2 separate regions of the Homo sapiens genome follow, and region 1 is linked to region 2. Evidence: promoter capture Hi-C in 16 types of primary human blood cells and fetal thymus (Javierre and others, 2016). All regions are on one chromosome and are shown on one strand. The core of a region is centred on a gene start or on the middle of the fragment in contact, and the rest is flanking DNA. Distances in the headings are between cores, read along the strand shown. Region 1 overlaps VPS35 (VPS35 retromer complex component). Region 2 holds the start of C16orf87 (chromosome 16 open reading frame 87).

Evidence for each region. Contacts are between HindIII fragments. The CHiCAGO score rates a contact against its expected background, and 5 or more counts as called.
Region 1: a contact is called between a fragment that was not itself captured here and the fragment with the promoter of C16orf87 in region 2, in 1 of 17 cell types (neutrophils). The highest score is 6.0, in neutrophils.

The regions. Positions count from the first base shown.
Region 1 is chr16:46,657,373-46,661,749 of GRCh38, forward strand. VPS35 (VPS35 retromer complex component) reads right to left here. Exons shown (of 17, transcript NM_018206.6): 16 at 4,346-4,377; 17 at 1-3,279. The coding sequence ends at 3,100. Among named protein-coding and RNA genes, the nearest start is that of VPS35, 30 kb to the right of the region's middle. The HindIII fragment of the contact is 9,807 bases long and covers 1-4,377 here.
Region 2 is chr16:46,828,073-46,832,552 of GRCh38, forward strand. It overlaps C16orf87 (chromosome 16 open reading frame 87), which reads right to left and starts at 3,108. Exons shown (of 4, transcript NM_001001436.4): 1 at 3,012-3,108. The coding sequence starts at 3,077. RefSeq lists a silencer at 2,805-3,454. The HindIII fragment of the contact is 5,874 bases long and covers 1-4,233 here.

The DNA of each region.
Region 1 (4,377 bases), core at 1,454-3,953, 170 kb before region 2:
TGAGGTCTCTGAATGAGAGAGCAAATGTTAACAGAAGACCCCTCTGGAACCTAGACTTTGTGTTTAAATCCCCTCAGTGCCTGTGGTGGTGCATTTATTCCTTGAGGTCTGTCACATTTCTCAATGCCTTTGAGAGCTGCACACGAACTGTACACAAGTGCTCATCATTCTCCTTCTAGGTGCTCTGGTGCCTGATCAACTCAAACGCCTCTCTCTTTGAGCAGTGTCTATCAGCAGGGGCTGTTTTTGCAGTTCATTAACCTGATGACCACCAATTTCAGGCTTGAGGATGAGTCAGAAACATGAATTTCTAGGCAAAGAAGGGATCATCTGGACTCTAAGAATCACTGGTTTCCTGGGTAGAGGCAGGAAAGGGAGGGTAGGAAAGTCTAACACGGCAGGCATCTCTCATCCAGTCACAGCATCTTCCTAGATGTGTCCCCCCAAACTATCCCCTAGTCTTGGAATTTAATGCCATTCAGCACCAAGCCTGCCCTGGTTCAGCGTTTCCATCCACCTGTGAGGGATTCCCCACCACACCCCAATTAAGGACAGGTACTTTTTTGTAAGACACAATAAAAATTACTAAAAAAGGAGAACAGGGAATAGCAGACACACAAAGCACAAAGCCAAATATTTATTACATCCAATAGACATAAAATTACTCTGTCAAATTGCTATAAAGGGTTTTAAATGCTAAGTCAATTTCTAAATATCTATTTCACTACAGGCAGCCAAGAGTATAACTTGCTTCAGCCCATGGGTCTGAGGAGCCTGGGACTGCAGGCCAAAGCACTGGCCTCAGAAGGCTAAATAAACTATTGGACTTGATGTTCCATGAGAATTCATACAACCCTCTGCAGAACTTCCCCATCCCCAATCCCTCAAAGCTCTTCTTCACTGCTCTCCTGCACAAACCCTTACCATCTTCTGTAACTACAGGTCTGTCTTCACAGCAGACTAACGTTCTTGAAGCTAGAGGCTATGATCTTCTTCACCTTTAGATTCAGTGCCTAACTATATCTGGTACCCAGTTTTTGTTCAACAAAAAAAATCTGTAAGTTAAGGATACTAGCAGTGCTTTTGTTTCACTTTTATTTACTTTTGTTGGTTTATTATTTTTAAAATTGGGTTTACCTCAACCCAGAAAATAAGAGATAATTTACACACTGTACTGACATTACCTTACTTGCAAACCAAGCTCTCCAACTCAAGTGTTCTTGACTCATGTCTTTTCTACTATTCCAGTTGTATTTCACAAAACATGTAAATAATATGGACATGTCAAGCCATAATCAGGTTTATACGGGGTAAACTAACACCTACAAAGAACAGAAAGGGTTTGCTGGACTATGACATACCACAGAATGGCTTAACATTTGATACATTTTAGTGGTACTAATTTTATAACTTTGGGAAACATCTGTTCATGTAAAGCCCAGCAAGGGCTAGTCATCAAGTGCTAGCAATGGGAGGGCAGATGGTGAGGGGTTAAGTGATGTAGTCATTTGAAAATGTCTATAAATTTTCCCTTTAAGAGGTGGAGCTTAATTCTCCTTACCCTTGAATATAGGCTAGACTTAGTGACTCCCCACTTACAGAATAAGGCAAAAATGAGCATGTCACTTCCACAGGGAGGCCACTGAAAGGCACTGTGGTTTCCTTCTTGCTTTCATACTCAGGGGAAAGCCAGCCACCATGCTGTGAGGACACTCTATGGAAGGGCCGTCAAGGAGAGGAACTGGGGCCTCTGCCCTCAAGGAAAGGAACTTAGGCCTCTGCCCTCAAGGAGAGGAACTGGGGCCTCTGCCCTCAAGAAGAGGAACTGGGGCCTCTGCCTAACAGCCAGGTCAGTGAGCAGAAAAGTCAGCCCCAGTCAAAGCATCAGATGACTGCAGCCCCAACCAGTATCTTGTTTGCAACCTTACACCACACTCTTTGCCAGAACCACCAGCTAAGCTGCTCCCAAATTCCTGATCCAGAGACCTGTGAGATAAATGTTTGCTGTTTTAAGACAGTAAGTTTTGGGATGGTTTATTATATAGTAGGTAACTAGTATCGGTGGTGAGCCTTTGGGGGGTTTATGTGAATTCATCATGCCTTGGGAAAAGCAGGGTAAAGTTGAGGAAAGAAAAGGGGTATAAATGACTAAAAGAGTAGATGCTGCCTTGTTCAACAAGTGCTTAAAACTAGAGTTAAGTGAGCTCTGTGAATATATGAGAATGACTATTAAACTCTATAGCCATACTACTAGTACTTTTTATCAATTAAAGATAGTATGAAAGGGGAAAAAAAGCTCCAAAATTGTTAATAGCATCTTTATTGTTTCACTGGTGCAAAAAAAAAAATCATAATTGTGATGCATTTCCTGCTAAATTTACAATGAAGGTGATACATAAATTATATAGATCACAAGTTTTCTTTTATACTATTTAAAACCCAATTATATTGATAAATATGTCCAGAGGACAACATGGGTTCTTAATGGATGGCTGAGTCCAAATATGCAAAATATAGCTTCTGGTTTTGACCATGGTGCTTTAAAATTCTCAAACATGCATTAATATATTCTAGTTTTAGGGAAAATCTTACACATGGCCTTATCTTGCAATTTAGGGGAAAGCCCAAGATGAATTTCACATACAGTATTCCTTTCTTCTAAATTAATCTCAAACTGGACTAGAAAACAAGAGACAGACGCTTTTGGGTTAGTACTCCCCAGGAATGAAGAAAATACACAATCAACAATGAAGCAAACAAACAAACAAAAAAAAGGAGAGCTTCATTAGTAGCCAAGATAAGTGCTTGTGGGTTTTGTGTTTTTTTTTTTTTTTTTTTTTACAGATCACAGGAATTTTAAATTGCAGATCAGTCATGCTACTTGGGGTGATCAGAAAGACTTGAACACTTACCAAGTGAATAATTTTATTAAGGTCCTGAAGGTGAGTGTCCGGAGGTGCTGGGTAAAACACATCACAGGTAAGAAATGGGAAACCTACCTCAGCATTTCTGAAAGGCACAATCTATGGAAGGGAAACCTAGCGTAATAAAACCCTCACTGGATGTACATGGAAAGGAGTATGGTGAGCTATTTCCTTTTTAAAGGATGAGACCTTCATAAATTGGCCCCTCGGATTCTGGTGATTCCCGCCGCAAGCGCAAATGCTCCAGTGTGTTATGAAAATGTTTGTTAATCTGCTCTGTTTCTTCACTGGATTCAAGATTCGGGAGGTCTTCTCGAATCTTTTGGATAAGCTGGTTTAAAACCTGAATTGTTACCTACAAAAGAATATGTACAAATTCATGATCAAGCACGTACCACAAAAAATGAAAGGCAATTTAATAAAACTGTTTTGAGGAGCTTCTGTTACACTCATCAATTACCTGAGTAATTATGAAAAAAGAAAGATGGGGATACAATTCCTAGTTTGAACAATTACTGACTATCAAAAAAAAAAAAAAAAAAACAACCCTTTAAAACAAGCAAAATTGGCTCGGCTCAGTGGCTCATCCCTGTACTCCCAGCACTTTGGGAGGCTGAGGTGGGCAGATCACTTGAAGTCAGGAGTTTTGAGACCAGCCTGGCCAACATGGTGGAACCCCATCTCTAGTAATAATACAAAAATTAGCTGGGCGTGGTGCCGGGCGCCTATAATACCAGCTATTCAGGAGGCTGAGGCATGAGAATTGCTTGAACCTGGGAGGCAGAGGTTGCAATGAGCTGAGATTGCCACTGCACTCCAGCCTGGGTGACAGAGCCAGACTCTGTCAAAAAAAGAAAAACAAGCAAAATTTTATTTAACTTACAAATCTTGACCAAAACTGTATTGCTAAAAGGATACTGCGTTTAGGAATTATTATTATTATTATTTTTGAGACGGAGTTTCACTCTTGTTGCCCAGGCAGGAGTGCAATGGCACAGTCTTGGCTCACTGCAGCCTCCACCTCCCAGGTTCAAGCGATTCTCCTGCCTTAGGCTTCCAAGTAGCTGGGATTACAGGCGCCTGCCACCACGCCTAGCTAATTTTTGTATTTTTAGTAGAGATGGGGTTTCACAATGTTGGCCAGGCTGGTTTCAAACTCCTGACCTCAGGTGATCTGCCTGCCTCAGCCTCCCAAAGTGCTGGGATTACAGGCATGAGCCACCACGCCCAGCCTAGGAATTATCTTAAACTAGAACATTATGACAAATTAGCCTATTATTTGACATCTGTAAATTATTTTACATTTTTCAAATGAACAGTGATTAAAGTATCAGAATGATAAACTTTTGTACATATCAAATCTCCTAAGAGTAGGAAGGGAAAATATTAGTTTATTAACAACACTTTACTAATTCACTTACCGCATCATTTTCCTTTTCATAAAAATAGATAT
Region 2 (4,480 bases), core at 1,858-4,357:
TACAGAGGTGCATGCCACCACACCCAGCTAATTTTTTAGTAGAGACAGGGTTTCACCGTGTTAGCCAGGATGGTCTGGAACTTCTGACCTCGTGATCCACCTGCCTCGGCCTCCCAAAGTACTGGGATTACAGGTGTGAGCCACTGCACACAGCCATTTAACTGATTTTTTAAAAGCTCCAAAATAATTACATTACAGAAAACTCATTTATATTCTTTACTACTGAAAGAACCAAAGGAACTTATACCAGACATATTTTATATACATCACATAAAATGTCCTTTAAATTAAAAAAAAGCTGCTCTATTTTTTTTAAAAATGAAGGCAAAAACAGAAGCATACACAAAAGATACCAGAAAACTGACAAGAATCTTGAGCACTGATGCACACAAAATGGCTCAGTAATTTTGAGTGATTGATGGATATGAAACCCCTTGAAAATGAAAAGGACTGTGGTTTAAGATGTTTTAGAATGATATGTTCAATAGAAGCCTGCAAAGGAGATGTTACAAAGCAGTTGAAAATCTAGCTTTTTCTTCTTTGCTGATCTCTGTACCCATTTTTCAAACTTACACACCCACATAAGTAAATCTAGTCAACTGGGAAATCTCAAATTTAAAGATTTTACATTTATGTTTATAAACTATACCTAAATTCGAATTTAATTTTTTTTAGGCAACTTAGAATCATAGCAGTATTCTAATGTTTAGAAAATGGCTTTCTGGATTATAATCATATTCTGGCTTATAACTAAAAGAAGCTAGTACTTTTAAATAATGAGAAAGCTAAAATTCATCCATTATTTTTTCACATCAGGTTCATATCACCAAAAGTTTTAATTAGTCCTTATGTATGTTACATTCACTTAAGTATTTGGAATAAAGGACAAAACAAACCAACTCATTAAATTATGTACTAGTTTGCTCTGGGTGGAATTATGCACCCCTCGACATCCAAATTCATATATTGAAGCCTTAACCGCAATGTGATGGTATTTGGAGATGGGCCATTTGAGAGAGAATTAGGTTTAAATTAAGTCATGAGGGTGGGGCCCTCATGATGTGATTAGGGACCTTTTAAGAAAAGGGAGAGAGCTTGACCCTCTTTCTGCCATGTGAGGACACCAAGAAGACAGCCATCTGCAAGCCAAGAAGAGAGCCCTCACCAGAACATAATCATGCTTTTGTTATGGCAGCCAAAGCTGGGTAAGCTGATTTTATATGAAAGAATAAATATGGGGGAGGGGGTGTATAACAAAATGAATGTGATCTTTCCAAATAAAACGCTGATCTTGTTTTGTTGAACAGTTTTTCAGAAACTCCTATAAGTTTATTATCCTTTGCTCTTTTATATAAAAATAGCCATAAAAAGTGGCTATTTTTCCCAAAAGGTTGCTTTATGCCAATTAGAACAAAGTCAGGATTTGCAAATACTTGTGCCTTACAGAAATTGGAATGCATAACGCATACCATGTAAACCTTACACTTCTACACAATTAACTGGAATAATTGGAAATGATTTAAACACTGAAATAATCTCCCGCAAAGAGTCATATTGCAAAGTCCAGTTTTGTCAAAATTTAACAAATTTAGTTCAGTAGTAAGAATGAAAGTAACTCTTTGGAAAACATGACTAAACTGTTTTTATACTGCATACTGGTATAGCTCCTACACTGTATTTCTTGCACAACCTTTTTCTGATAAGCATTTTTACTACAGCCCATAAAGGATACTTAATAAAACATGTAACATGTTTTCTGTTAAAAGATTTGAAAAACCTACAAGAATTCTCCTTGAAAAATGCACTAAAATCAGCTTATTAAAAAGTCTCCAGCCATTTCAAATTACTCTTGATTTAAAAAAAAAAAAAGGCGGTGGGGGGAGGGGAGGAGAGAAAGGTAGTCATTTTGAAAAAATCCACTCAGTGGAAAAGGAAAAAACACACCCAGATCTACATGTTGGTAACAAACGAGGGCCTTACGAATGGTTTTAACTGAAGTAGTTTTAACTCATTAGATGTTAAGGCTTAAAGGAATGTCTATTATTCCAGTAAAGAATTGAGACACGCTTCAACACAGCGATCACTGAAATGAGATGTTTTAAATTACAACTATTACACCATGAACTCAATGTAGAAAGGAATCGTTTCAAATTCAAGAAACGAGATAGAGAGATAGAGAGATAGAGAGAGACAGACAGAGAGAGAGAGAGAGAGAGAGAGAGAGAGAGAGAGAGAGACACACAGAGACATTCAGACAGACAGGGATACAGATCTGGAAGCAGACAGGCCAAATTTGTAACAGTGGATACTGCGAGGGGTGGGGAAGTTAGGAGCGCCCAAAAAGGAGGAAGGGCTTAAACAGGGGCTTTATTCAATCATGACCCATTAAAAACGATGTAAAGGCAGGATTCGCGATTGCACAGCAAAAATATAATAAATAGATGAGGAAGGGGAAAAAATCTCCAAATTCGCCGAAACTCAAAATCATTACACGCGGCCCCCTTTGTCCCACTCAGGCGCCCGCCCCGGTCGCGGAGGGGCCGTTTTGGGGAAGCCCCGCACCCGTCGGAACCGGGAACAAAGCCGCCCCGGCCGCAGGAGGGGTTCTCGGAGCTAGGGCCTGGCCTCGGAGGCGGGCGTGCGGCACACTCTCGCCGGGGCTGCGGCCCGCAGGCTCCCACCGCTGTCACCGCCGCCGGCGAGGAGAGTCTGGGGCTCCAGACAGCCGCCCGGTGAGCCCACCAAAGGCGCGCTCCTCCAGTGGCCGGGACACAGCAAGAAGGGGCTTGGCCGTCTGGCCGCCGCCAGGTGGACGCTGGCGGGCCACGGCCCCGGGCTTTTCCCGGGAAACCCCTCGGTGCAGCCCGACCGGCCCCGGATCCCCGCCGCCGCCGGCGGGCCCCAGGATCTGCCCACCGCTCGGCCTCCGGGAGCCCGGCGAGGCCCCCCTCCACAGACAACGGCCGCCAAGCCACTGCCGCCCGCCCGCGCGCCCGGCCCCCGGCACCCACCTGTTGGTCGCACTCGGGGCATGATTTGGTGGCCATCTTCACTTTCTTGGCTCGAGTTGCAGACATGCTCCTCTCCCTTAGCGGCGGCAGCAGCGACGGCTCGGGCTCCTCCCCTCACACTTCGGCAGCCCGGCCTCCGCCCGCCCAGTCCCCGCGGGCCTCAAACAAGCCTCTGGCGGGTGCGCGCGCGCGCGTGCGCGAGCTCGCGCGGGACCTGGGCGCCAAGGGGGCGGGGCGGAGCGTCGGCCGGCGGCTCCTGGGGACCGCGACACGCGCTCCCACGGCGGCTCGCGACCCACAGCCCGCCCGCGAGCTCGCCCAGAGTATCACGAGACGAGGGGAGACCTCCCCCCCCTCCGCCAGACCGCCCCGGCGCGGCAGTGGCCACGCCTCCTCTCGGCCTGGCCGACTACGAGGGGGCAAGGCCTGGGCGGGACTCGGCAGTAACGGGCGTCGAGTTCGACCAACGAATGCATAGGTAGGGCGGGCCGTAGTGCTGGGCACGCCCCATCCCCACAGAGACCGTGGGAGCGAAGGCTGGGGAATGAATGGTGAAGGGCGTAGCGTGGATCCTGGCATTTAATAAACTTAAGTAGATGTTACCAAGGCTAATCATTGAGAAATTATGATAGACATTTTATGAGACCACTGGACCCAGCAGCAGAGTGAAAATTCATTTATTTATTCAATATATAATTGCCTAAGTCCCACTGTCAGGAAAATTTGAATAAAATGCAGTGTCAGCCTTCAAGGAGCAGCCTAGCTGTGTAAACCAGTGCTACTCACTATCAAGATGAGGGATCAGATGTTTTTCTTTTTCCAATCTGTCCGTGACTGATACTTACTAAATTAACATTAAAATTAAATTATTCGAGGCTGGGCGCAATGGCTCACGCCTGTAATCCCAGCACTTTGGGAAGCCGAGGAGGGCGGATCTCTTGAGCCCAGGAGTTCCAGACCACCCTGGGCAACATAGCGAGACCCCCATCTCTACAAAAAGTAAAAGATTTTTAAAAATTAGCTGAGCGTGGTGGCCCATGCCTGGAGTCCTAGCTAGTAGAGAGGCTGAGGTGGGAGGATCGCTTGAGCCTATGAGATTGAGGCTTCAGTGAGCCGAGATTGTGGCCACTGCACTCCAGCCTGGGCGACAGAGCGAGACTCCGTCTCAAAAAAAAGAAAAAGAAAGAAAAAGTGAAATTTAAAAACAACTATGCAAAACGTAAGCTTACTTTTAAATATTTAATTTGACAGACCCAAAGTTATACTTAATAAACAATCAGAACAAACATAACAGAAAGAAAATTTACAAACTGTACACTTGGCTCAGAGAAAATTTACCAATATGCATTTATTACAGAGACTGGCTATTCCACTGATAACTTTTTATTCAACAATTGTTAACTAAAGCAAAGTTATGAGTTACAATTTTACATAGTAAATGCCTGTAAGCACACTTTGTATAAATAACA